4 separate regions of the Homo sapiens genome follow, and all the other regions are linked to region 4. The links are contacts of gene promoters, found by promoter capture Hi-C in blood cells and fetal thymus (Javierre and others, 2016). All regions are on one chromosome and are shown on one strand. The core of a region is centred on a gene start or on the middle of the fragment in contact, and the rest is flanking DNA. Distances in the headings are between cores, read along the strand shown. Region 1 holds the start of VAC14-AS1 (VAC14 antisense RNA 1). Region 2 holds the start of DDX19A (DEAD-box helicase 19A). Region 3 holds the start of AARS1 (alanyl-tRNA synthetase 1). Region 4 holds the start of WWP2 (WW domain containing E3 ubiquitin protein ligase 2).

Evidence for each region. Contacts are between HindIII fragments. The CHiCAGO score rates a contact against its expected background, and 5 or more counts as called.
Region 1: the fragment with the promoter of VAC14-AS1 here is called in contact with the fragment with the promoter of WWP2 in region 4 in 2 of 17 cell types (naive CD8 T cells and fetal thymus); the score reaches 5.4 in naive CD8 T cells.
Region 2: the fragment with the promoter of DDX19A here is called in contact with the fragment with the promoter of WWP2 in region 4 in 1 of 17 cell types (neutrophils); the score reaches 6.5 in neutrophils.
Region 3: a contact is called between the fragment with the promoter of AARS1 here and the fragment with the promoter of WWP2 in region 4, in 17 of 17 cell types (activated CD4 T cells, total B cells, erythroblasts and 14 more). The highest score is 20.2, in activated CD4 T cells.

What each region holds. Positions count from the first base shown.
Region 1 is chr16:70,753,575-70,756,790 of GRCh38, forward strand. It overlaps VAC14-AS1 (VAC14 antisense RNA 1), which reads left to right and starts at 1,521. Exons shown (of 6, transcript NR_034083.3): 1 at 1,521-1,675; 2 at 2,439-2,513. All of the region lies in intron 12 of VAC14 (VAC14 component of PIKFYVE complex), which reads right to left. RefSeq lists enhancers at 1,038-1,678, 1,679-2,319. The HindIII fragment of the contact is 11,858 bases long and covers 1-3,216 here.
Region 2 is chr16:70,345,123-70,348,297 of GRCh38, forward strand. It overlaps DDX19A (DEAD-box helicase 19A), which reads left to right and starts at 1,781. Exons shown (of 12, transcript NM_018332.5): 1 at 1,781-1,926. The coding sequence starts at 1,870. It overlaps DDX19A-DT (DDX19A divergent transcript), which reads right to left and starts at 1,625. Exons shown (of 5, transcript NR_039997.1): 1 at 1,077-1,625. RefSeq lists enhancers at 781-1,399, 1,400-2,017, 1,536-2,025. The HindIII fragment of the contact is 29,277 bases long and covers 1-3,175 here.
Region 3 is chr16:70,287,668-70,290,980 of GRCh38, forward strand. It overlaps AARS1 (alanyl-tRNA synthetase 1), which reads right to left and starts at 1,839. Exons shown (of 21, transcript NM_001605.3): 1 at 1,754-1,839. It also overlaps a transcript of DDX19B not described here. RefSeq lists a silencer at 1,055-1,184. The HindIII fragment of the contact is 11,417 bases long and covers 1-3,313 here.
Region 4 is chr16:69,760,864-69,764,253 of GRCh38, forward strand. It overlaps WWP2 (WW domain containing E3 ubiquitin protein ligase 2), which reads left to right and starts at 1,469. Exons shown (of 24, transcript NM_001270454.2): 1 at 1,469-1,528. RefSeq lists an enhancer at 1,274-1,852 and silencers at 1,556-1,695, 1,716-1,875, 1,896-1,945. The HindIII fragment of the contact is 2,162 bases long and covers 871-3,032 here.

The DNA.
Region 1 (3,216 bases), core at 271-2,770, 990 kb after region 4:
CAGTCTCTAAGCAAGATCTCACGCTGGTCTGTATCTGTGCTCCCAGAGATGTGCACCAAACCCACTGGGAAGCATGTGAAAAATACCAGCCCCTGGGCACCCGGGCTCTGCTTGAGGGACGACTGAGGAAGGCCGGGAGTGAGGCCCAAGCAGCTGGATTTTAAAAGCTCCAGGGAATTCTGGTGACAGTCCTGGTTTAGATGGCTCTGCTGTGTGGCTTGAGCCGGGGCTGGATAGTGTGCTCAGTCCTGCAGGCAACTCGCCCTGCAGCTTGGCTCTAGGAGGTGTGAGTGAGAGCGCCCATTCCTGCCTCAGGGAAAGGCTGGCTGGGCTGGCTCCTCTTTGTGGGGTTCCTCCTACCCCAGAGGCCCTGCCGCTGGGAGAGCCGCCTCCCTTTCCACCATGCTTCTCAGCCCAACCTCTGCCTTCACCAGGAGCTAGGCAGCACCCTCCTGGCCCCCAATCCATTCATACCAGTTACTGTGCCCAGCTCTGGGTCCTCACTGGTCCATCTGCCCAGGGCAAGGAACATGGAGAGGTAAATACTCAAACCCTCCTGGCACACAGTCCTGTCTTCCCTGCAAGGAGGTGGCAAGGCTGGCCGCAGTTACTCTGGGTCCCCCTGTGCTCTGGGGTGGCTGCTGTGGGCACTGACACCACAAGGTGGGAACATCTGGAAGAATGAGGGGTGGGTAGAGGCCCTCTCAGTGGGTACAGTTCTGGGACTGTTACCTTGCCATTCCCCTCTCTTCCCTAGCAACGATTTGCCGCCAAGCCTCATTTTAGAAGACCACAGTCCTCTCTGAACCCCCAGCAGTGGCTGCTGGTACCTCTGCTGGGCCTGGGACCTAGCTGTCCCCGAGGAGGAAGGCTCAGGGCCGTGGCTGGAGTCTAGCTGCTTTGCTGGCTGGCGGTGGCCCTTCTCCCTGGCACATGACTCCCTCTCACTTGTTCTCAGAAGCCCCCAAAAGAAGCTGCAGGGACAGCCGCGGGGAGAGGGGACAGAGGGCAGTGTCCCCTGCCCACGGCAGGGCCAGGGGAGGGTGCCTCAGGAAGAGGGTCCCCGGGCCATCAGTGCCCACCCAGCTCCTCTCCCCTGCAGGCTGGGCTCTTGCAAGAGGAGTCAAGTTCTTTGGGCACCGACACGGCACCCCTCCATTCTCTGGGCTGAGGCCGTATCTTACTGCGTGATCTGATTTTAAAGATATCTGTGGAATTGAGGTGGGGGTGGAGGGGTGTTTTTGTTTGTTTTGGAGAGTGGATGGAATGAAAATTGGAGGGAAGTGAACACTGAGGCAAGAATCTGAGGAGGAAAAACAAGTACTGTTCTTATGGAAGACTGTCCGCTTCTGAGCAGGCAGCATTAGTATTCCAGGGAGTGGAGTCAGGACCACACAGATTCAGGGCTGGAAGGGATCTCAGACCATCCAGTCCAACCCCAGTACCCTGGGAAGAAAACCGAGGTGAGGCGGTGTCATGTGACCTGCCTGGTCCCGTGGAGAGCCGGGCAGCGTGGGGGCAGAGGCTGGCCCTCCTGATCTGCACCCAGGCGGCTTCTACACCACCCTGCAGCAGGCCTGGCCACCGGCCTCAGCGCTTCTGGGAGAAGGTCAGCCAGGTGGAAGATGGAGAGGGCTTCTGGACTGAGCCCTGGAGGGGGGCTAGGGGCCACCAGGTCAGTGAGCAGCCAGGGACAGCCCATGGGGCCTGGGAAGGAAGGTGCAGGAGAATGAGGTCAAAGTTAAATGCACAGAGGGAGAAGGTGCATTTAGAACTGAAGGTCAGCCAAGGACAAAACCCTATGGGGTCAGCGGAGGGCCTGGGCCTGGATAAGGCAGTGCCTCCACCCTGGGCCGGGTCCCTGCTCTGCAGTGAGGTGACACCTTGTGTGAGGTTTTAGATGCTCTGGAATCAGACAGATTTGACTGTCAATTCTGGCTGACAGTGTGACCTTAGGCAAGTGATCCTCCTCACACCTCGGGGTAACTAAGATCACTCCTGGACCACCATGTGGATTCATTAAGACACAGATGCAATGCACTCAGAATGGGGCACAAGCCCCGCAGACTTCAGCTGGGGCCCTCTCCTCCTCCTAGTCTCCTCCCACTGATACGAGGGGTTGACACATGACCCACCACGGTTCCTAAAGAAAGCTGCAGCGGGGGTGGTGGAGGGGCCGTCATTGGCTCTCTAAGCTGCCCTCAAATGAAGGGGCCTCTACTTTAGTGGAAGCCCCCATTTTGGGGTAGACACTGAGGGATGGCAGTAACAGCTCCTCTCTTTGGGGGACGGGAGAGAGCAGCCCCAGCCACCTGGGAACCTAGGGGCACTCTGCTTCCTCCCACCATTCCTCACAGCACAGCTCGGGGGTTTGGGGCTTCCCCCAGGTGGGACCCCAGGCCAAAGTCCGTGTCATCAAGAATTAAATCCCTTTAAAGCAGGCAGATGAGCCCTGGGACCCAGCTGGCCAACCCACCTGACCACGGTGACAAGGACTGCTTGGGAAGGATAAGGTAAGGGAGTACATCTGTGGACCGGATGGCATGAGGCTGGAGAAGGAAAGGGGCACGCTGGGGTGATACACAGGGCTGCTTCTGCCCTGAGGCAGGAAGCCAGGCAGCCTCACCCCAGCTCTGCTCTGCTCTGCTCTGGGCTGGGCTGAGGCTCCAGGCAGGCGTGGCAGCAGCAGTGGCACTGCCAGCCCAAGTTGGGCCGTTCCTCTGGGCTCCTAGGCAAGCCCCGATCTGCTTCTCTTTCTGGCAACTCGGCCTGGCCCCAGTGAGTGCTCTCCTTTCAGATCTCTGAACCTCCTGAGTTTTTCCGATCCATTTCTCCTGGGACCTGCACCATGAAAACAAATGAACTCTCCCCTTCCTCCCCTACCAAAGCAAATCGCACCTTAAAATACAGTCTAGGGCATGGCAGGGGGTGCTTCCCAGCGCCTACCCTGCTGGTGAGGGGCTGAGAGGCCCAAGACCAAGGAGGGCTGGATAGGGCATCTGCCACCAGTGAAGAGCCCCTCAAGGCGCCCCATTCCTCTCCCCTCAGGACTCAGCAGAGGCTGGGACAGCCCTTGGGGTTCTACCCCATGGGTCAGGCACTTCTGCTACCTGTCCTCAACCCAGGTACCACTGGGTTGGGGAGGCACCGGGCCACCTTGGACCGGGTACATCGCTGTACCCATGGTGTACCTTACGAAACTTACAACAAAAGCTC
Region 2 (3,175 bases), core at 531-3,030, 580 kb after region 4:
GCGAAGTGCTATATTCCCAGCTGCTGGGGAGCTGAGGTGCGAGGATCACTTGAGTCTGGGAGATCAAGGCTGCAGTGAGCTGTGAACGTGCCACTGCATTCCAGCCTAGGTGACAGAGCAAGACCCTGTCACAAAAAACAAACAAAAACAGTTATTCTTCCTTGGGAACTGCTTATAAAAAAGAAAAAGCAGGTCAGCACTGTGGCTCACACCTGTAATCCCAGCACTTTGGGCGGCCCAGGCAGGCAGATCCTTGAGCTCAGGAGTTCAAGGCCAGCCTAGCCAACGTGGTGAAACTCCATCTCTACTAAAAATACAAACATTATCTGGGCGTGGTGGCGTGTGCCTGTAATCCCAGCTACTTGGGAGGCTGAGGCAGGAGAACCGCTTGAATCCAGGAAGCAGAGGTTGCAGTGAGCCAAGACCCGGCCACTGCACTCCAGCCTGGGTGATATCTGTAAATAATGGTTCCATGAGTTTAGAAATACAAAGTAGCATGACTTAACAAATTTACACATCTATGTAACCAGGTCCCAATCAAGATACAGAATAATTCTATCACCCAGGAAGTTCTCTTGTGTCTGGACCAAACATCCTTCTCCACAGGTAAGCTCTGTTAGTTTTTATCAGCATAGATTTTATTTGTCCTATTCTTGAATCTCATATAAATAGATTATACATTATGTATTTGGTGGTCCTTCAACATAATGGCCAGGTGTGGTGGCTCATGCCTGTAATCCCAACACTTTGAGAGGCCAAGGCAGGAGGATCTCTGGAGTTAGCAGGAGATCAAAAGCAGCCTGAGCAATATAATGAAGACTTCCGTCTCTGCAAAAAGTTTAAAAACTAGCCAGGAGTGGTGGTGCGGGCCTGTGGGCCCAGCTACCTGGGAGGCTGAGGTGGGAGGTCAAGGGTGCAGTGAGCCGAGATCACACCACTGCATTCCAGCCTGGGCGACACAATGAGACCCTGACTCAAAAAAGAAACGAAAAAACGCATTGTGTGTTGTGTTTATTGGATGGTGGAATTATGGGGTTTACGGGTCTTCTGTTGCGTTTTGGTTTTTGTTTTCTTACCTGTTATCGCGTTCCTAACAGTAGAAATTGGCATCATATAGTATTCTCATGGAACTTTCCTTTGTTCAAAGCCCTACAGTTCAGAGACTTACACATTTAATGTGAGATATGACAGGCTTAAAAAGAAACGTTGGGGGCCGGGCGCGGTGGCTCACGCCTGTAATCCCAACACTTTGGGAGGCTGAGGCGGGAGGATCACAAGGTCAGCAGTTCGAGATCAGCCTGGCCAACATGGTGAAACCCCATCTCTACTAAAAATACAAAAATTAGCCGGGCGTGGTGGCGGGCACCTGTAATCCCAGCTACTCGGGAGGCTGAGGTAGAATAGCTTGAACACGGAGGCGGAGGTTGCAGTGAGTCGAGATCCCGCCACGGCACTCCAGCCTGGGACAGAGCGAGACTCCGTCTCGAAAAAAAATAATAAAATAAATAATAAAATAAATAAAATAAAATAAACGTTGGCTTATTTCAGTGTGAAGTAAGGCAATAAACGGAGGGCTAACAGTTCCACTTCGTAGAGCTCAGACATTTTAAGAAGCGAGGAGGCCGCGTCCTGGAAGGGTGAGCAAAAAGCGCGAGGTTTGCGCACGAAGGGAAAGGCGAGGCCCGAGGAGAGACCTGGCGCCGCGCAGAATGATGATGTCGCACGCTGGGTGGGAACTGACGTCACCTGTGCTCACCGCCGCTTCCGGTCCGCGTGAGGTGCATTCTCGCGCCGGTGGCGAGGTTAGGGCCCGCGTTGCGACGTGGTGCAGCGCATATTTTCACAAGTGGGTCTCCCTTGTCCGGGACTATGGCCACCGACTCGTGGGCCCTGGCGGTGGACGAGCAGGAAGCGGCTGTCAAGTCGGTCAGTAGCTCAGCTCCTGGCGAGGAGGACGTAGCAGGGGCCCAAGCGAAACCTCCCAAAAGCACAGGGAGCTCCCCGGGTTGGGGAGGCCCCTGGGCAACGCGCTCCTGCAGTTTGCTAGGGCAGTCACTTGCCCTTGATTTGCTCTTAGAGCTAAAGAGACCAATGTCGAGCTTTTTATCTCCATCTGGGCTGGTTAAGGACTTCATCCTTTGGTAAATCCGCCCCACTATGCATGCTGTCATTCCTCTATTGACCTCCTCGGTGACGATTATAAGGAAAGCCAAGTTTAGATTCTGATTCTCTTTTTCATTACGCGACTGTTCTTCGCATGTTTCTGTACTACTCTGTATTTAACATTTCTTAGATCCATGCTTAACGTGGTTGGTAGTTTGTAGCTCTTTGCAGAATAACAGATTGACTTTTGGATTTAATACCTCAATCTACTGCAGATGTTGGAAGGAGGCACTACAAATTGTTTCATTGATGTGTAAAGTAACGGTTTCATGTACTTGTTCTTTCAGTAATGAATATTCATTCAACTGGAATGTAATTACAGCATACACTGTGGCTTTCTGTTCTTATATCTAAGACCTAAACTTTAGGTTTGTTTAGTGATAATGGACTGTCTTTTTTTTTGTTGTAGTTGTTTCTCTTTTGAGGCAGAGTTTTGCTCTTGTTGCCCAGGCTGGAGTGCAATGGCGCCATCTCGGCTCACCGCAACCTCCGCCTCCCGGGTTCAAGCGATTCTCCTGCCTCAGTCTCCCGAGTAGCTGGGATTACAGGCATGCGCCACCACGCCCGGCTAATTTTGTATTTTTTGTAGAGACGGGGTTTCTCCATGTTGGTCAGGCTGGTCTCGAACTCCCGACCTCAAGTGATCCGCCCACCTCGGCCTCCCAAAGTGCTGGGATTACAGCCGTGAGTCACCGCGCCCAGCCGGTATGGGGATTTTTGAGAGGGCTATTGACAGAATTAGACAAGGCTGGCAAGGATTTATTGAACTACAGAGAACAGAATATGTTAGAAGTGATGGCTAATAGAAATATCAGTGTAGAAGTTATTCTGATAGCCCCGAGATAGAGGGCCTATGTTGGGCAGTGGAAGTGAAAATTAAGGGATGGGTATAAGATATGAAGGTAGAATGGGTAGGACTTGCTAACATAATAAAGGAGAGAAGGGAGATAAAGCCAAAGGTTTCTGTTTTCAACCTGGATCCTATTGGTACTACTAACGTCCCAATAACAGG
Region 3 (3,313 bases), core at 589-3,088, 530 kb after region 4:
ATAAGTTTGAGGCTGCAGTGAGCTATGGTCACACCAAAACATTCCAGCCTAGGTAACAGGGTGAGACCCTGACTCAAACAACAACAAACGTAAAGACACTTTTTCTTTTTTTTGAGACGGTGTTTCGCTCTTGTAGCCCAGGCTGGAGTGCAATGGTGCGCAACCTCGGCTCACCGCAATCTCCACCTCCCGGCTTCAAGCGATTCTCCTGCCTCAGCCTCCTGAGTAGCTGGGAATACAGGCATGTGCCACCACACCTAGCTAATTTTGTATTTTTAGTAGAGACGGGGTTTCTCCATGTTGGTCAGGCTGGTCTCGACCTCCTGACCTCAGGCGATCTGCCCGCCTCGGCCTCCCAAAGTGCTGGGATTACAGGGGTGAGCTACCGCGCCCGGCCAAGACACTTATTTAAGACAGCCTTCCCCTTCTTCTTTTTTTTTTTTTTTTTTTTTTGAGACGGAGTCTCGCTCTGTTGCGCAGGCTGGAGTGCAGTGGCGCGATCTCAGCTCACTGCAAGCTCCGCCTCCCGGGTTCACGCCATTCTCCTGCCTCAGCCTCCCGAGTAGCTGGGACTACTGGGACTACGGGCGCCAGTCACCACGCCCGGCTATTTTTGTATATTTGGTAGAGATGGGGTTTCACCGTGTTAGCCAGGATGGTCTCAATCTCCTGACCTCGTGATCTGCCCACCTCGGCCTCCCCAAGTGCTGGGATTACAGGCGTGAGCCACCGCGCCCGGCCGCCTTCCCCTTCTTGATAAGGCTCCCCCTCTTTTACTGTCTCACAGCCTCAAGTGTTTCCCTTCATAATTTCCATACGCGCTTCATGGATTGTTTAATGTGCGCCTCCCCCATCAGGCTGTCAGTTCCATCCCAGCAGCAACGACTGTTCTGGGCTCTTTTTTTTTTTTTTTTTTTGAAACGGAGTCTCCCTCTGTCACCCAGGCTGGAGTGCAATGGTGTGATCTCAGCTCACTGCAACCTCCGCCTGCCGGGTTCAAGCGATTCTCATGCCTCAGCCTCCGGAGTGGCTGAGAGTACAGGCGCGCGCCGCCACGCTCGGCTAATTTTTGTATTTTTAGTAAAGACGGGGTTTCACCATGTTGGCCAGGCTAGTCTCGAACCCCTGACCTCAGGTGATCCGCCCGCCTCGACCTCCCAAAGCGCTGGGATTACAGGCGTGAGCCTCCGCGCCTGGCCCTGGGCTATTACAGCACATCCTCAGCATCTAGTACAGTGGCTGCTAAATACGTATTTCGTGATCAGGTATACTAATCCTTTAACACCAAGTTCGGAATTAACTCACATGCTTCAAAGCACACCGAGAAATACAAACTGTTTTACAGAACAGCTTAAGATGACGGTCTCGGTGCGCCTGGACCGGCATCAGCTGTTTAGTTAATTTTAAGAAATCAAGGAATGGCTGGCTTACAGCAGGATTGCACCCAGCTGGCCCATCCTTCCTCCCGTGCCCCCACCCGCCCCTAGGGGATTAAAACCAAGGGAGCTAAAACCCCAGGTTGGCAACCGTGAGGTATTGGTGCTCAGCAAATCCACCCGAGGCCGCGACACTCGCAGCGCTCCCGGGGGCGAACGCAAGGCCACACTGTCCAGCTCCCGCTCCAGCCCAGACTGGGCTTCTCCAGGCCACGCGGGGCCTGATCCTGGGGCCCACTGCGGCTGCGGAGCTTTCCCCCCAGTCTGCGGGCCCAGCCGCTCTCCTAGCACCGCAGAGCTCTCCGAGGGCGGCCTACCTCTCCTAGGGTCGCCGTCCCCAGCTCCTCCCTCAGAGTCCCCCGCCAAGGGCCCGCTGCACCTATTCCCGCAGACGCGCAGCTGTACCGGCCTCAGACCACGACCTACCACAACCCGCCACGCTCCGTCCAATCAGAGCGCGCCGACGGAAAGTGCCCCGCCGCGCCTTACCTCATGAGATATTATTGGTCAACCAACATGCCAGTCAAACTGAGGACGAATCCGTTCATTAGTGGATTCCTGGGAAGGCGGCTCTAACTTGGCTGATGCAACTGCGAGAAAAGGTGGGATGGGGTGCGTCACATGATCGAGTTAGACCCCCCCCCGCCCCCCCCGCCCCCCCCCGCCCCCGGCTCCCGGAGGTCGACATTTTGGTTTCCATAGGCAAAGTCCTAACACCACAATTGACATAGTTAAAAAGGGGAGACGGTAACGTGTTTGGTAGAGGTTACATATCTTGCTATAGTTGTTTATTTTAGTTGCTGAGTGATACACAGCCCTCAAAGAGTCTGACATTGTGCCCATGGTTACACTTGTCCGGGGGAGACCTTGAATTTGGTGTGGAAGAAATAACATCAGTAGTTCAGGTACGATTGGATCAGCATCTGGTCCTCGATTTGCCTTTGGAAAAAAAAAAGTTAATATTTATAGGCCTGGGGGAGGAGGGTGAATATATATATATACATATACATATATACATGCCAGGTGCGGTGGCTCACGCCTATAATTGCAACACTTTGGGAGGCCAAGGTGGGAAGATCACCTGAACCCAGGAGTTGGAGACCAGCCTGGTCAACATAACTAGACCCTGTCTCTACGAAAAATTTTTTAAAAGGCCGGGCGCGGTGGCCCACACCTGTAATCCTAGCACTTTGGGAGGCTGAGGCCAACGGATGACGAGGTCAGGAGACCGAGAGCATCCTGGCCAACATGGTGAAACCCCGTCTCTACTAAAAACACAAAATTAGCCGGGCGCGCATCTGTAGTCCCAGCCACTCGGGAGGCTGAGGCAAGGGAATCCCTTGACCTCGGGAGGCGGAAGTTGCGGTGAGCCGAGATGGCGCCACTGCACTCCAGCCTGGCTACGGAGCAAGACTCCGTCTCAAAAAAAAAAATAAAAAATAAAAATTAGCCAGGCATAGTGGCGCATGCTTGTAGTCCCAGCTACTTGGGAGGTTGAAGTGGGAGGATCACTTGAGCCTAGGAAGTTGAGGCTGCAGTGAGCCCTGATCGTGACACTGCATTCCTTGGGCGACAGAGCGAGGCCCTGTCTGAAAAATATGTATGTATTTATACGTGAGGCATTGCATCAAACATTTCACATGCTTATTTCATTTGATTTTTAAACTGTGTATGAGGTCAGCTGGAGTCCCCTTTTTACAAATGAGGAAATTACCTTGCACAAGTTCACACCCAATAGTAAGTTGTGGAGACAGGATCCAAACCTGTGTCTATTTAACTCCAAAGCCCATGCTCTTAACCACTGCACTATTACCTCCATCATCTGATATATCCAAATACACGGGTAATAAATTGTGCTGCTGGTCATAACTCAAGTT
Region 4 (3,390 bases), core at 219-2,718:
CACTTTGGGAGGCCAAGGCAGGTGGATCATCTGAGGTTAGGAGTTTGAGACCAGCCTGGCCAACATGGTGAAACCCCATCTCTATTAAAAATACAAAAATTAGCCAGGCATGGTGGTGGGTGCCTGTAGTCCCAGCTACTCAGGAGGCTGAGGAAGGAGAATTGCTTGAACCTGGGAGGCAGAGGTTGCAGTGAGCCAAGATTGAGCCACTGCACTCCTGCCTGGGCTACAAGAGTGAAACTCTGTCTCAAGCAAGCAAATAAATAAATAAATAAATAAATAAATAAAGTTATTGGGCAGGCACAGTGGCATTCGCCTGTAGTCTCAGCTACTTGGGAGGCTGAAGCAAGAGGACTGCTTGAAGCTGGGAGTTCGAGCCCAGCCAAAGCAACCTATCCAGACCCATCTCTTAAAAAAAATATTTCTCTGCCAGGTGCGGTGGTTCATGCCTGTAATCCCAGCACTTTGGGAGGCCAAGGTGGGCGGATCATTTGAAGTCAGGTGTTCGAGACCAGACTGGTCAACATGGAGGAACCCTGTCTCTACTAAAAATGCAAAAATTAGCCAGGCGTGGTGGTGCACGCCTGTAATCCCAGCTACTCGGGAGGCTGAGGCAGGAGAATTGCATGAACCGGCGAGACGGAGGTTGCAGTCAGCTGAGACTGCACCACTGCACTCCAGCCTGGGCGACAGAGCGAGGCTCCATCTCAAAAAAAAAAAAAAAAATATCATCTATCTATCCACCTACCTACCTACCTACCTACCTGGATTATAATTCATTAAGTTCTCTGTGCCCTGTAGTTGTAGATTAAGGGAATGCGATTGGATTAGTGTGGAGGGGCTTTTTATGGAGCCAAGCAGGAGTTTTTAAGCTTTTGTACTTTTGCTTCATGTCACAAGGACAGATGCCCCACAAAGGCTGAGATGTTTGTGGTCCTGGATCTTAGAACAGTGCCTGGCACATAATAGGCATAAGGTTGCCAGGAAATAGAAATACAGATACTCAATTCAATTTGATCTTCAGATAATCAAAAAATACTTTTTTTAGTATAAATATGTCCCATTCTGTATTTGGGACATACATATTACACTGTTGTTTATCTGAAATTCAAATTTAAGTGGGTGTCCTGTACTTTATCTGGCAACCCTACTAAAGGAGCTCAATTAAGTATTTGCTGACTTAACAGTCTGAAGGTCTCGTTTCACCTGTAAAATGGGGCTAGTACCTGTCCCTGCCTCTATAAGGTTGATGGGCAGAGTAGGTGGCATTCAGTGAGCCCTCAATTTATTTGATTGCCTGGGACCATCCGGTGAGCAGAAACCCTTCCACTTTCAACTACAGAGACGATAAAAAGGCCTCCTCGAGGCCAGAGGTGCCCAGGCCAGGCCTAGGTGGCCCGCACCTGCGAGCCTGGCCAGCCTCTTCCGGGTCAGGTGACCGCGCGCGGTCACGTGACCCGGCCCGAGTGCGGGCGGTGGAAGGCGGAAGTAGGAGAGGAGTTCGGCGCCGCTTCTGTGGCCACGGCAGGTAGCGAGCGCTGGCGCGGGGGGCGCGGTGGGCTGGCTGCCTGCACGGGGCGGGCCGGGGGCGGCGGGCGGCGCGGGGTGGGCCGGGGGCGGCGCGGCCCGGGCGTCGGGGGGCGGCGGCTTCCTGTGGGAGGGGCCTGGCGCGGCGGTTCCGGCCTCCGAGGAGGGGTGTCCCGGCTCCCGCCCGAGTGGGGTGGGCGCGCCGCGGCCCGCGCGGGGGTTGCTCCGAAATGGGTGCCCCGGCCGCCAAGGGTGCAGCTGGAGCGAGTCCTCCCGGAAGGGGAGAGGAGCTTAGGTTCCCAGGCATGGAGAGGAGCGATCTTTGTGGAGGGATCGGGACCAGGGGAAGGGGCGACTTGGAACTGAGCTGGAAGGGGGTGCCTGAAAATGGGTTTATGGCGTGGAGCCAGAGGGAAAAAGATGCTGCCTGGACCCCCTCTGAGAGTCTCTCCCTTCCTTCCTGTTTGGAAATGATTGTTACCCGAGACTTTGATGACGGTCCCATTCAGTTTTTAAACTTCAGGAGGGATCACAGAATCTTGATCGTCTTGCTTCCCTCGCGCCCACTTAGTCCTGCGTGGGTAGGGTTTCCACTTCTTGGGAGCCTAGCCCTTCAGCTCATTTTTCTTTGAGATTTTCCCTGAACGGGCCATCATCGAGGCTTTAAAAAACAAAAAAAGAAAATAAATTAAAAAAATAAGTGTGGGCACTTTGCCTGTAAAATGGCTTTTAGCTTACACTGTTGACCTAGCCCAGCGTTACCTCAGCAACATAGTGACTGCTGAAATCTTGGACAGAGAAGTGTCTACCTAGACTGCTTTATGACTTTTCTCTTTCTTCCGTTTAAATTATTCAGTTTCCCTTAGCTTATCTTGTGACTGCTTATCTTGACGAACTGTAACTAGGTAGGGTGCCTGAGAGGTCTGTGTTATGTTCCTTAGAACTGTGACCTGGATCATGATTTTGAGATTGAATACTTGTGTTAAAGCCTGTTCATCTTCCTGTTTCTCATGTTTACTAAAATTTGCAGAAGCAAAAGGAGTTTCATGAGTGCAGTGTAACTGGAACGAATGTTCAAACTGGACATTCACAGCAGCCAGCATCGTTTTGGGTTACAAGTAGGAAAAAGTACTTTCCTAATGTATTATGAGTTCAAGTTTTTGGAGTTATTTGACAAACATTTAAAAATTAGTTTTTGCAGCAGCGCCTATGAGTGAGGTTGGGAAGATGTATTCTCATTTCACAGGGAACAAACAGACTTACGAGAGACGACTTGATTTTTTAAAACAATTTATTGCTCTTTCTTGTTTGCTGGCCTCTTCCTGCTAGATTGCAAATCCTTCAAGGGCAGGTTTCATATTTTATTTGGCTGCTAGCCTAGTGCCTGGCATGTTGTGAGCACTTGATAAATATTTGGTGAATAAATGCATTTCTAAAAGTCACACCGGCGTAAGTGGTGACAAAGGATTTGAACCCAAGTCTTCTACTCTTTTTCTTGTCAGAGAAGCTTGTGATTATCTGTGTCATTGGTCCATATGAAAACAGGCTCGAGAGAAAGGCTTGGATTGGCTTCTCAGTCTCTTTCACTTCATGATTACTTTCCCATTTACAAAGAGCGTATACCAACATCTCACTTAACCTTCCCTTTGAAATTGGGATGGTCAGTATTGTCCCTATATCACATGAAGAGACTGAGGCTTAATGAAGTCCTTACTTTAGATTTCAGAGCTAGTAAATGAGTAGGGACTCAAGCCCAGACCCTTAATCCTTAGATCCATTCTTTTTCATTTATTGACACAATAGAAAATTTTATTTTTATTTTATTTTGAGACAGGATCTTACTCTGTTGCCCAGGCTGGAGTG